4 separate regions of the Homo sapiens genome follow, and regions 2, 3 and 4 are each linked to region 1. The links are contacts of gene promoters, found by promoter capture Hi-C in blood cells and fetal thymus (Javierre and others, 2016). All regions are on one chromosome and are shown on one strand. The core of a region is centred on a gene start or on the middle of the fragment in contact, and the rest is flanking DNA. Distances in the headings are between cores, read along the strand shown. Region 1 holds the start of RNF157-AS1 (RNF157 antisense RNA 1). Region 2 overlaps UBALD2 (UBA like domain containing 2). Region 3 overlaps PRPSAP1 (phosphoribosyl pyrophosphate synthetase associated protein 1). Region 4 overlaps QRICH2 (glutamine rich 2).

Region 1 (3,120 bases), core at 597-3,096:
TTACTCAAGAGGATCTGGAGTTGGAGGAGTGGGAGAGGCAAGGGCTAGGGAAAGGCATGTTGGCGGGGGAGTGATGCGCCATAGCCGGGCCTTCTTCATGGTCTGGGCACCAGCCTCCCCGACCCCGGCTCTCCAGCTCCTGGGCAGAGGCGGGGTAATCAACCCAGCCCCCACCACTGCCTCTGCAGCCGCCTTAAACCGGAGAACGTCCAACCCTGCAGCTCCTCAATAATTAAAGAGCAGGAAAGCTGGTGACAGGAGGGAGGCCAGGGGAAGGGAGGAGGAAGGGACACAGTCCCCAGAGTCCCTCTACTCTTAATCCCTGTGACTTAAAGGTTGGTGAAATTAATTGGGCAAATGACCCCGCTAGGAGAATTTGACAAGTCCATGACTTCAGAGTTTTACCCACGGGCTCTGCTTCATCAGCTGTCTCCAGAGGAGTGAGTGCGCTTCTGCAGAAGCCTCTGGAATGTCAGCTTCCTGGAACCTCGAGGATACGGGTGGGGAAGGAGCTGCTTACTGGGACACACTGGATTACCCTACCCCCTTGGTGTGTCTGCCGCCTCTGTGGATGTAAGCGGCAGGTGGCATCGGAAAGTCAGACCTGCCTGGGACACCAGAGAAAGACCCTAAGAGTCGGGGGAGAGGGAAAGGCTGCAGAAACATGAGAAAGTGCCACTCGTAGCGGAGAGGAAAGAAAACCTCAAGGATACGGTTCCCGAGCCTGAGCCCGCTCCCAGCCTTAGCCCCCCAACCCCAGGCTCCGTCCCAGGAGCAGTCGACGCCTCAAAGCGTACGGGACAGGAAGGGGGTGGGGGCGAGAGTCTTGGTTCCCCAGAACGAACGGATCCATAGCGGTTCCCGGTGCCGCAGGCCGCGCGCTTCTCCGACCCCAGCGCGGGGCCCTCGGGCGGGAATGAGCCGAGCCGGGACTTAGCGGCGGGTAGGGGGTTGGGTGGCGCGGGAGAGGGCGGCAGAAGGAGGGAGTTCGAAGAGAGTTGCCGCCAGGGAGAGTGGCAAGTGCCCGCGGTCTCCTTGGAGACGTGCTGGCCAATGGCAGAGGCGGAAGCTGTTTATGGGGGCGGAGCGTCGCCATGGCAGCAGGAGAAGCCTTTGGAGCGGCTACTTAATGCCGGTCCCGGGGCCGCGGTAGCTCAGAGAAGCGCCGTCGGGCGGGGGGGCGGCAAGAGGCGCTGGCAGGGCCCCCGAGCTGGGGGCAGAGAGCCGCAGGGGGTGGGAGCAACTTCTTCCAGAACCTTCCTCTGGCCCGGGCTGCGCTCTGAGCCAGGTAAGGGATGGGGAGGGCTGCAGGCCAGGGGGAAGGGTGGGCAACGGTACCAACCCGCTCTCTCATTCGTCCTTAACGGAAGTGGTGGGCCCAGGGACTGACATCGGAGAAGTCTGGGGGAAACTCGCCTCCTGCCCCCCGTTACTGTTCCGTCCCCTTCCTTCCCAATGATCCCCTATCATAATATTCCTTTTCAAGGATCAGAGGACCTCCACCGCCCCCGCCCCGTCGTACCGCCCTCCCAAACTTCTCGCCCCACTTCCATTTGTTGCGAGGAGGAAGGGGGTCCTGATTTCCTGCTCTTCGGGAGAAAAGGATAGCCTCGGATGCCCCTACCCTCTTCATTTGGCTAATAAAACCTCGAAGAGGAAAGGAAGAGGGAGGCAGATCTGATGGGGGTGGGACCCCAGGGCCTTGCTTCTGTTTCCCATACCTCGGCACTAAAAGATCCTCCCCAGCTGCGGGGATGATGTTAGAGAGGGCGTCCCCGTACACACACTGTCCCCTCGGGGGTGGGGTAGTGCTCAGCTCCCACCGTGGTCCTCGCAGGCACCACATACTTATTCGGAGGAGGCGCCCCCGGGGTCGCGAGATGGAAGCGCGCGTCCGGGAGGCCGTGTAACGGGAGCTGCGGGACTCAGCGGGCCAGAGAGCGCGGCGGGCCACCCCCGGCTCAGCCCGTGGATGCTGACCGCCCCCTCGGAGAGTCCCCGCAGACATGGCGGAGAGCTGGCTGCGCCTCTCGGGAGCCGGGCCGGCGGAGGAGGCCGGGCCGGAGGGCGGCCTGGAGGAGCCCGACGCCCTGGATGACAGCCTGACCAGCCTGCAGTGGCTGCAGGAATTCTCCATTCTCAACGCCAAGGCCCCCGCCCTGCCCCCGGGGGGCACCGACCCCCACGGCTACCACCAGGTGCCAGGTTCAGCGGCGCCCGGGTCCCCCCTGGCGGCCGACCCCGCCTGCCTGGGGCAGCCACACACGCCGGGCAAGCCCACGTCGTCGTGCACGTCGCGGAGCGCGCCCCCGGGGCTGCAGGCCCCACCCCCCGACGACGTGGACTACGCCACCAATCCGCACGTGAAGCCTCCCTACTCGTATGCCACGCTCATCTGCATGGCCATGCAGGCCAGCAAGGCCACCAAGATCACCCTGTCGGCCATCTACAAGTGGATCACGGACAACTTCTGCTACTTCCGCCACGCAGATCCCACCTGGCAGGTAGAGGAGGCACGGGCGGCGGCCGCTCCCTCCCCATTCCCTCCTCGCTCCCCACGCTGCACTGGATTCATATCCCAAATCTGCAGGCCAAGTAGGCTCTGCGGTGCGGCCAGCGCCCCAGAAGGGAGCCCTGCAAAGGAGCCCAGTTCTTGCAACTGCCCCTCCTTTGACTTCCAGAGAGAGAGAGAGAGAGAAGGGAGAATGTCCAGAGGTGGAGGGCTTTAGGGGTGCAGAGGCTGAGATTCAAGGGGAAATAACCTGCCATTCATCCAGCAGGCCCAGGCCAAAGACCAGGGCTAGACTCTGCGTGGACAGAATCTCCTTGGGGAGAGCGATGAACTGAAGGCGCATTCTTGTCCCAAGTCCTAGAATTCCTAGACACTGCCCTGCCCCGGGATGGTTTGTCGGGGCCGGGAGTCAGAAACGGAAACTGGAACGTGGCCTCCCTGCCAGGCTCTACGTCCTGCCCTTTTGCAGTTGGCTTGGGGAGGGTGGAATGGAAGGGGTGCCTTAGCATGTGAGGGCCAGGTGTGTCCCAATGGAGGGTGGAGGGGGTAAGGGGCCTTCCTAAAGCTGCTGTCCCAGCCCCCCACCTCAACCTCTGCTCAGTTTCCTG
Region 2 (3,225 bases), core at 426-2,925, 130 kb before region 1:
GGGGCAGGCTTGGCTGGGTCGGGTGGCCGCTCCCTCCTGGCCTGCTCTTCAGAGACCCTGGGAGTCTTCATGTGATGATGTCATGCTCAGAGCTGGACAGAAGAGAGGAGCTGCTCAGACAGCGGAGCCCCGGGCGGGCACCCCTGGGCCCCAGCCCCTTTCTCCCCGGGCAGGAGGCAGAGGCAGGGCCACCCCTCCCAGGCTCCAGCTGGGCTCCTGTTGCTCTCGGCCCCACCCTGGCTGTGAAATGTCAGAAGGTGGCTCAGTTTCCCGGGTCTAGAAGCCAAATTCACCAGCTTGGCAGGGAGGTGCAGCCCAGCCCTCCTCACCCAGGCCTTCCCCACGCCCACAGAAGGTCCCAGAGCGACATTCCCTAAGCCGGCCAGGGCAACCCCCGACCATTCCCGCACCTGGGCATGGCCCACACCTGGGTGGACCCCGGTGCAGGCCCAGGAGGCCTGGGGACGTCACAGCCTAACCACCCACGTGCTGAGAGGGGCTGCCCCTTCCAGCCTGGGAAAGCACAGGTGGGCAGGGGCGGGGGGAGGGGGAGGAGTCTCAGGGGTTTCCAACCAGGAAACAAAACTGAAAGGACGAACCCAGCTTCCAAGCACGTCCGTGTCACACGCAGGGGTGGAGGGGCAGCGGGGCCCACCGTTCCGCTCCACTGGAGGAGGGGCTGCCCCACCGTGTGAGGGGCCCGAGGAGGCCCGGAGGCAGGATGCGGTGGGTGCCGGGCCCGGCCCCTCTCGACTTTTATTTCACTTCCGGCCTGAACCTCCAGAACCCTTGTCCTGCCTGTGTTCCAGCAAGACTTGGGCCCCGTAGACCCCAGCAGAGGGCGAGGCAGGAGGACGGGACAGGAAGGGGCTGCCCAGACTGTATGGCGGTGAAGGGCAGGGCTGGAGGAGGAATCCCAGCCACGCGGCCATCACCCCCATCAGCCAGGTGGACAGGCTCCCCACGCAGCTGACCTCCCGAGCAGCAGGACCACCTGAGGACGAGCTGCTGGGTCAGGAACTGGTAACCTCGCCCCATGCTGACGCCTGCAGGGCTGCGGGGAAGGGGGAATGGAAGCAGGCCCCTCTGGGGACCCGCCAGCCTTAATTGAACTTTGGGTCATGGCCACTCCACAGGCCATGACCCAAAGGGACATACTGCCCCCGGGAAGCTGAGGAGAGGAGTATCGGAGATGAGCCCAGCTGGAAGATGCTTCCTGGGAGGGCCTGGGGGGGCCATCAGGAGGCCCCCAGCTAGAAGGAAGCTCTCCCCACTGTAGATGAAAATGGCTTCCAGCTCTTCTCACTAGGGCTCTGTGGGTGGGGGCTACACCGATGGGGCCAAGAAGGGAAGGTCACAGAAACTCAGGACGGACCCCGGCCCCTCTCTCCTCCCCACACCAACCTGGACCTTGCTGTCAGAGCCCCTGGTGTGACCATCCCACAGCAAAAACATCCAGACCAGCCCAGTGGCAAGGGACCCCCACCACCCCTCTTCTGAGGAGACCGCTTTTCCCACCAACGGAAATAAAAGCACCGCAAACCAGGGAAGTTAGAAAAGTCTCTTTTTAAGTTTTTAAATTAAAATTTCGCCCTGGTGAGATGGGATTCTGATTCGGGAACTAAACCCAAAGGCAGGCTCTCCACTTTGGACCTGGACACGCAGCGGGAGGGGCAGGGCGCCCAGGGCAGTCAAGTCCCCTGCTGGGCAGAGCCTGGCCTTTGACCAAAGTCAGCTCCTCAGTGCCACATCAGCCCTGCACATTCAGCAGGAGACAGGGGTGATGAGCTATGGGGCCACAACCAGCAATCAGAGGTGGGGAAGAGGCCATGGGGAGAGAGCCCTGATACCAAGAGGGCCTTCCACAGCTTTGACCTCAGGCCCTCCTGGGACCTGCAGCTGCTATGTGGCTGCCCAGTGACTGCAGGAGTGGTGTCCTCTTCCAGATTCCAGAAGGCATGGCTGTTAAAGGAGGCAGCTGACAGATGCCTTGTGCCCACAACATCACTCCATCAGCTCTGCAGCATGGCAGCCCTACCCCCGAGCACCCCAGGTGTGCCAGGCCCATTCTCACGCACATTAGTTATATTTATCTATTCATATATATTATAGTTATATATTAAAAACAGAGGAAAAACTTGCCTGAAAAACTCCTGAAGGACCCACGTGGCCCAGGAAGTTTACTGTCCCCCCGACCCACAAAAATTCTTTTATAAAATCTTCCAGTGCGATCTTCGGGAAACCCCCTGCCCTCCCCGGCTCCCCCCTCCCTGGCCCTCCTGTGTCCCCACAACCCTGGGCTGCCCCCAGCTCCAGCCCAGCGCCCGGCGGCGTCCAGTCTCATCTCTGGCCGTCCATGGCCGCCATGGCTTTCTGCTGGGCGCCCCCCTGCTGTGCTCCTGGGGGCCACGTGGGCTGTGGGCGGTGGAGGTGGTGGAAGGTGGTGGGGGAGGAGGGCGGGATCCAGGGCGCCTGGTGGCTGGGCGGGGACGAGGCCCAGAAGGGGCTGAAGTTTGCAGGTGGGGAGCAGGCTGCGGCTGTCATGGGGCTGTTGCTGCTCTGCAGGCCCTCGGAGGCGCGGAGCTTGGAGAACATGGCCAGCGCATCGGGGAAGTTGGGCGGCGTGGCAGGGGTGTTGCTGGGAGTGCACATCTGCGGGAGAGAACACGGGTGTGGGGAGGCTGCCTCGGGGGTCCCCGAGCCACTGGATGGGGCTTACCCAGGCCAGCCGCTCCTTTACTCCCATTTTTCAGCTTCATTCATTTTCGCACAAGCAGCTTCCACAGGACAAAAGTGCCCTCTCCCCGAGGCAATACAAACAGAAAACAAGGACAAAACCCAAGAACCTTATCAAAACCAACGGGGTTTCATGAGGCCTGGAAATGACACCCCGAGGAGCATTCAAAGTAAATGGTTAATTGCACCCAGGAGCTAAGGTGTCAGATTAAAGTGAAAGGGCAAGGGGGCAGCCCAGGACACCACTGTTCCGCACCTTCCCTGGGCAGGGAGACCAGCTGACTGCCCCACCAGCCACCCTCAGATGCTCCCAGGCTGCTAGGCAAGGGAGAGCGGCCAGCGGGGAGGCTCTCCCTCCTGTGCCAACCCTGGAAAAGTTAAGCCACCTTGGTGGATGGGTTCACACCACACTAAGGGTGACAGCCACCAGGCCTTGAAGGCTTTGCCTCCCTTAACAATGACACTTAGTGGCTTCAATTATCCTCTCTT
Region 3 (3,144 bases), core at 625-3,124, 200 kb before region 1:
TACAGGCACATGCCACCATGCATGGCTAATTTTGTATTTTTAGTAGAGACAGGGTTTTGCCATGTTGCCCAGGCTGGTCTTGAACTCCTGAGCTCAGCTGATCTGCTTGCCCCGGCCTCCCGAGGTGCTTGGATTACATGCATGAGGCACTGTGCCCAGCTTTTATTTAAAAGAAAAAAGAAATTTTGGCCAAAGGAAGAAGTAGGAAGCACTTCATAGAGTTGTAGCAGAGTCTTGTACAATAACAATGACAATTTTACATAAGTCAACATGGAAAGGCACCTTCCCTGTTGAAAAAGGCACATAGGTATAAATGGGTACTTCTGAAAACCAGAACCCTCTCCTGAAGATGGTGAAGTTTCTTTATGTGTATTTGGTGTTGAGATAAAAGCCGCAAGTCTCTTCCCAGTGGTTCAGTTTAAGAGCATCAAAGCAAAAATATCATCACCTGGCATTTTCTCTGTCTCTTAAGCTGATAGGGATGGAAGAAGAAAGGAAAAATTTGGAAAAAAGACAGGTTGGATGTGTTGTTTTGTGTGGGTGTGCAGCCCATAAAGAAGGTTATTAGGTTTGTCACAATAAACTGGTTCTTTTTGTTGTTTTTTTGAGACGGAGGCTTGCTGTGTTGCCCAGGCTGGAGTGCAGTGGCGTGATCTCGGCTCACTGCAACCTCTGCCTCCCAGGTTCAAGCAATTCTCCTGCCTCAGCCTCCTGAGTAGCTGGGATTATAGGCGTGTGCCACCACAGCCAGCTGATTTTTGTATTTTTAGTAGAGACGGGGTTTCACAGTGTTGACCAGAATGGTCTCAAACTCCTGACCTCAGGTGATCCACCCGCCTTGGCCTCCCAAAGTGCTGAGATTATAGACGTGAGCCACCGTGCCCAGTCAATAAACTAGTTTTTGTAGTGCTTGAGTACTGGATACTTTAGTACCAACTAAAGAACACAGATAATTTAATTTAATTTAATTTTTTTTTTGAGACGAGTTTCTTTCTTGTTGCCCAGGCTGGAGTGCAGTGGTGTGACCTTGGCTCACTGCAACCTCCACTTTCCAGGTTCAAGTGATTCTCCTGCCTGAGCCTCCCGAGTAGCTGGGATTACTGGCATGTACCACCATGCCTGGCTAATTTTGTATTTTTAGTAGAGATGGGGTTTTACCATGTTGGCCAGGCTGGTTTTGAACCCCTGACCTCAGGTGATCCATCCACCTCGGCCTCCCAAAGTCCTGGGATTACAGGCATGAGCCACCATGCCTGGCCTAATTTTTTATTTTATTTTATATTTTATATTTTATTTTATTTATTTTTTGAGACGGAGTCTTGCTGTGTTGCCCAGGTTGGAGTGCAGTGGCACAATCTCGGCTTACTGCAACTTCTGCCTCCTGGGTTCAAGCAATTCTCCTGTCTCAGCTTCCTGAGTAGCTGGGATTACAGGTGCACACCACCACACCCAGCTAATTTTTGTATTTTTAGTAGAGATGGGGTTTCTCCATGTTGCCTAGGCTGGTCTCGAACTCCTGACCTTAGGTGATTCACCTGCCTCAGCCTCCCAGAATGTTAGGATTACAGGCATGAGCCACTGTGCCCGACCTGGTTTTTTAATATTATCTGCGGTTACATAGATGAAGGAATATCTTTTACAGGTTTTTCTGTTGTTGGGAGGAAGGGGGCATTGCCTAAAGTAATAAGGCTAATTTTAGGCAAACAGACCAAAGCTTAGACATTAAAATAAGCTTAGTTGCCTTCAGAGCTGTTGTTCTAAAATCACATAGATACCTTTTTTTGGTGCTGTTTTTGCTTGGAATAGCTTTGGAACTACTGCTTCCAAACTTGCAGCATATTTCTTTTGACTGTTCTAATAATAGCAACCTTTTGGTCGTTGAGGATAGGTTTAATTTTTGGAAATGGCAAAAAGCCATTCAGAACAAAATGATTATTTTGGGTAATTGAACTGTGCGATACTCAGAGATTTTCCAGATATACCAAGCAATGGAACTAAGTAAAATATGAAGCTTATGAAGTATATTTTAAAGGTTAATTTTTATGTTTATGTACAAGTTCTAGTGTGTTGATGTAAAGTAAGCAGACTCATTAAAATAACATTTACAGCTGGGCACGGTGGCTCACACCTGTAATCCCAGCACTTTGGGAGGCCGAGGCAGGTGGATCAGTTGGTCAGGAGTTTGAGACCAGACTAGCCAACATGGTGAAACCCCGTCTCTACTAAAAATACAAAAAATTAACCAGGCATGGTGGCAGGTGCCTGTAATCCCAGATATTCGGAAGGCTGAGGTGGGAGAATCGATTGAACCCGGAAGGCAGAGGTTGCAGTGAGCCAAGATGGTGCTACTGCACTCTCGCCTTCCAGCCTGGGTGACAGAGTGACTCAGTCTCAAAACAACAACAAAAAATTCCCAGCTGCTGCAGATGATTAATTGTTACAGTTGGGAGCAGGGTAAATTCTCCCCCATTACTTCCAGCTGTGGTGTGGTTTCTCTTTTTGCGAGCCTGGCTAGTTTAATGAATGCGTATACCATGCCTGTTTCCTCATCTCAGGTTAGTTTGTTGTTGTTGTTGTTGTTGTTGTTTTCCAATATGGAACACTTCACGAATTTGCGTGTCATCCTTGCACAGGGGCCATGCTAATCTTCTCTGTATCATTCCAATTTTAGTATATGTGCTGCTGAAGAGAGCACACCTCAGGTTAGTTTTTGCCTGTCCAAAATGCTAGAGCAGTAAGGGCTGGACTTAATATAGGATGTGGTTTTCTTAGGGGAAAGAAAAGTAGTTGGTTGTCTGGGCATGATGGCTCAAGCTGTACTCCCAGCACTTTGGGAGGCCAAGGCGGGAGGATTGCCTGAGCCCAGGAGTACAAGACCAGCTGGGCAACATGGTGAGACCTTTCTCTATTTAAAAAAAAGAAAGAAAAGTAGTTGGTAAAACAATTAAGAATGTCCTACTTAGAGATAAAGACTACAAGAGCTAGCCAGGGTGTACTTGCAACATTCTTAGGGAACAGATAAAGCAGAGACTGCCAGCCGATTTCCCTTCGCCCTGCTAGTTCACAAAGTAACTGCCTGGTGTCCAATTTGTCCGGTATCTCTCAGTGAATGGGTAAAGCCAATGTGACAAAGCCCCTTTTGTC
Region 4 (2,872 bases), core at 333-2,832, 150 kb before region 1:
CTCCGTCGACCGAGTCTTATCAGAAGGGAGCGAAGTCTCGAGTGAAGTCCTGAGTGAGCGACGCAATTCACTGCGTAGAATGAGTTCTAGTTTCCCCACGGCAGTGGAGACATTTCATCTGATGGGAGAGCTCAGTAGCCTCTATGTGGGGCTAAAGGAGAGTATGAAGGATCTGGATGAGGAGCAGGCCGGCCAAACCGACTTGGAGAAGATCCAGTTCCTGCTGGCACAGATGGGTGGGTGCCGCTTGCCGATAGAGGAGAAACCATTGTCTCTGTTTTCAGTTGGTTTCATCCTTTTCTTCCCCTGGCCTCAACTCCTGGCTGCTACACATCTCCCTGAGTCCCTGAAAACAGCATGTCATTCAGAGCATGTCCCACAGCCTTCAGAGTCCAAAAAAATGGGTGGGCAAAGGAGAGAACTAAGCCCCAGGAGAGGAGTGGAGCGGGTTCTTGTGGCTTTGTCAGGCTCTCTGCACAGCAGTGGGGGAAAGTGTCTGGTTATAGAGAGCAGTAGCATTGGGAGGTGGGCGGGAGAGAATGTTGAAGAATTAAACTTAACATTTTGACTGGGAGCAATGGCTCACACCTGTAATCCCAGCACCTTGGGAAGCAGAGCTGGGTGGATAGCTTGAGGCCGAGTTCGAGACCAGCCTAGGCAATGTGGCAAAACTCTATCTCTACCAAAAAAAACAAAAAAAAAATTAGCCAGGCGTGGTGGCACACACCTGTAGTCCCAGCTACTTGGGAAGCTGAGGTGGGAAGATTGTTGGAGCCAGGGAGGCAGAGGTTGCAGTGAGCTGTGATGGATCACTGCACTCCAGCCTGGGTGACAGAGCAAGACCCTGTCTCAAACAAAACAAAACTTAACATTTGCCTGTTCCCAACTCCAAGCCCAGAGAGTAATTAAGATTTTTTGCAGTGGTTGGAATTCGGGAGTCAGTTGTCCCAAAGCCCTTTAGGATGTCAGGCATTAGGTGGATGTTTCATGGGCTAAGGACAGCTCTCTCTCCCTTCTTCCCACCTCCCTTTCCCAGTCACCAGGAGACACAGGATAAAGTAATAGGTCCTGCTGTCCTCTAGGGTAGCTTCAGTGTTACAGGGGCTGGAAATGGAGATTGGGAGCCCACTAGAGATCTAACCCCTCTGATCATAAGGCTTCTGCTTTCCATAGTCAAAAGGACCATACCTCCTGAACTGCAGGAGCAGCTGAAGACCGTAAAGACGCTAGCCAAAGAAGTTTGGCAGGAGAAAGCAAAAGTAAGGAAGAGTCAACCCACTTTGTCTTTTTTTTTTTTTTGAGATGGAGTTTTGCTCTTGTCGCCCTGGCTGGAGTGCAGTGGCACCATCTCAGCTCACTCAACCTCCACCTCCCAGGTTCAAGCGATTCTCATGCCTCAGCCTCCCGAGTAGCTGGGATTACAGGCATGTGCCACCATGCCCGGCTAATTTTGTATTATTATTTGTATTATTATTAGTAGAGATGGGGTTTCTCCATGTTGGTCAGCCTGGTCTTGAACTCCCAACCTCAGATGATCTGCCTACCTTGACCTCCCAAAGTGCTGGGATTACAGGCGTGAGCCACCGTGCCCAGCCCCCACTTTGTCTTTTAATGCTAATAATAGCACTTTCCATTTGTATTTTACGGATTAAATAGCTCTTTCTTTTACATTATTATCTAATTGGATCTTTGCAATCTTATCAGATAGGAACTGCACCTTGGGTATCATCGTGTTCATTTCCTGGATCTAAAACCTGATGCTCAGGCTGGGCACGCTGGCTCATGCCTATAATCCCAGCACTTTGGGAGGCCAAGGCAGGAGGATCACTTGAGCCCGGGAGCTCGAGACCAGCCTGGGCAACATAGCAAGGACTTATCTCTACAAAAAATTTAAAAATTAGCCAGACATGGTGGTGCATGCCTGTAGTCTCAGCTACTTGGGAGGCTGAGGCAGGAGGATCACTTGAGCCTGAGTTTGAGGCTGCAGTAAGCTATGATCACGCCATGGCACTCTAGCCTGAGTGACAGGGCAAGACCCTGTCTCTAAAAAAATTTTTTTTAAAAACTGATGCTCAAAGCTATTATGATTCAGCTGAGCCAAATAATGAGGGCTTTGCTCTTTTCTTTTTTTCTTTTTTTTTTTTTTTGAGACACAGTCTCACTCTGTCGCCAAGGCTGGAGTACAGTGGCGCAATCTCGGCTCACTGCAAGCTCCACCTCCCAGGTTCACGCCATTTTCCTGCCTCAGCCTCCCAAGTAGCTGGGACTACAGGTGCTCGCCACCACGCCCGGCTAATTTTTTGTATTTTTAGTAGAGATGGGGTTTCACCGTGTTAGCCAGGATGGTCTCGATTTCCTGACCTTGTGATCTGCCTGCCTCGGCCTCCCAAAGTGCTGGGATTACAGGCGTGAGCCACCACACCCGGCCTTGCTCTTTTCATTATCTGTGGCAGCCTTGGAGTCCAGTTTGTGGATTTTCTGGGGCCAGAGGTCATTGCAAGGGACGGCCAGATCCCTTCAGACATTCTCCTTTTTTTTTTTAAATTGAGACGGAGTCTCGCTCTGTTGCCCAGGCTAGAGTGCAATGATGCGATCTCGGCTCACTGCAACCTCTGCCCCCTGGGTTCAAGCTATTCTCATGCCTCAGCCTCCCAAGTAGCTGGGATTACAGGCATGCATGTTCATGCCCAGCTAATTTTAGTATTTTTAGTAGAGACAGGGTTTCACCATGTTGGTCAGGCTTGTCTGGAACTCCTGACCTCAGGTGATCCTCCCACCTCAGCCTCCCAAAGTGCTGGGATTACAGGTGTGATCCACCACGCCCGGCCCAGTCATTCCTTTTTTTTTTTTTTTTTTTTTTTTTTTTTAAGAC

Evidence for each region. The method cuts DNA at HindIII sites, captures the fragments that hold promoters and counts their contacts. A CHiCAGO score of 5 or more calls a contact.
Region 2: a contact is called between a fragment that was not itself captured here and the fragment with the promoter of RNF157-AS1 in region 1, in 7 of 17 cell types (non-activated CD4 T cells, naive CD4 T cells, naive CD8 T cells and 4 more). The highest score is 13.5, in non-activated CD4 T cells.
Region 3: a contact is called between a fragment that was not itself captured here and the fragment with the promoter of RNF157-AS1 in region 1, in 5 of 17 cell types (M1 macrophages, total B cells, M2 macrophages and 2 more). The highest score is 6.0, in M1 macrophages.
Region 4: a fragment that was not itself captured here is called in contact with the fragment with the promoter of RNF157-AS1 in region 1 in 16 of 17 cell types (activated CD4 T cells, M1 macrophages, M0 macrophages and 13 more); the score reaches 14.8 in activated CD4 T cells.

What each region holds. Positions count from the first base shown.
Region 1 is chr17:76,139,282-76,142,401 of GRCh38, reverse strand. It overlaps RNF157-AS1 (RNF157 antisense RNA 1), which reads right to left and starts at 1,846. Exons shown (of 8, transcript NR_040017.1): 1 at 1,722-1,846. FOXJ1 (forkhead box J1) reads left to right here and starts at 1,157. Exons shown (of 3, transcript NM_001454.4): 1 at 1,157-1,288; 2 at 1,838-2,504. The coding sequence starts at 2,007. RefSeq lists silencers at 1,162-1,321, 2,000-2,069, 2,130-2,319 and an enhancer at 2,731-3,120. The HindIII fragment of the contact is 14,991 bases long and covers 1-3,120 here.
Region 2 is chr17:76,269,621-76,272,845 of GRCh38, reverse strand. UBALD2 (UBA like domain containing 2) reads right to left here. Exons shown (of 3, transcript NM_182565.4): 3 at 1,548-2,652. The coding sequence ends at 2,341. Among named protein-coding and RNA genes, the nearest start is that of UBALD2, 5.9 kb to the right of the region's middle. RefSeq lists silencers at 126-265, 706-805 and enhancers at 1-383, 506-555, 384-908, 1,496-1,715, 2,596-2,785. The HindIII fragment of the contact is 5,749 bases long and covers 1-3,225 here.
Region 3 is chr17:76,336,867-76,340,010 of GRCh38, reverse strand. The region is part of intron 3 of PRPSAP1 (phosphoribosyl pyrophosphate synthetase associated protein 1); the gene reads left to right. It also overlaps the pseudogene RNU6-24P. Among named protein-coding and RNA genes, the nearest start is that of PRPSAP1, 15 kb to the left of the region's middle. The HindIII fragment of the contact is 279 bases long and covers 1,735-2,013 here.
Region 4 is chr17:76,288,379-76,291,250 of GRCh38, reverse strand. It overlaps QRICH2 (glutamine rich 2), which reads left to right. Exons shown (of 19, transcript NM_001388453.1): 4 at 1-236; 5 at 1,174-1,259. Among named protein-coding and RNA genes, the nearest start is that of QRICH2, 18 kb to the left of the region's middle. The HindIII fragment of the contact is 4,189 bases long and covers 1-2,872 here.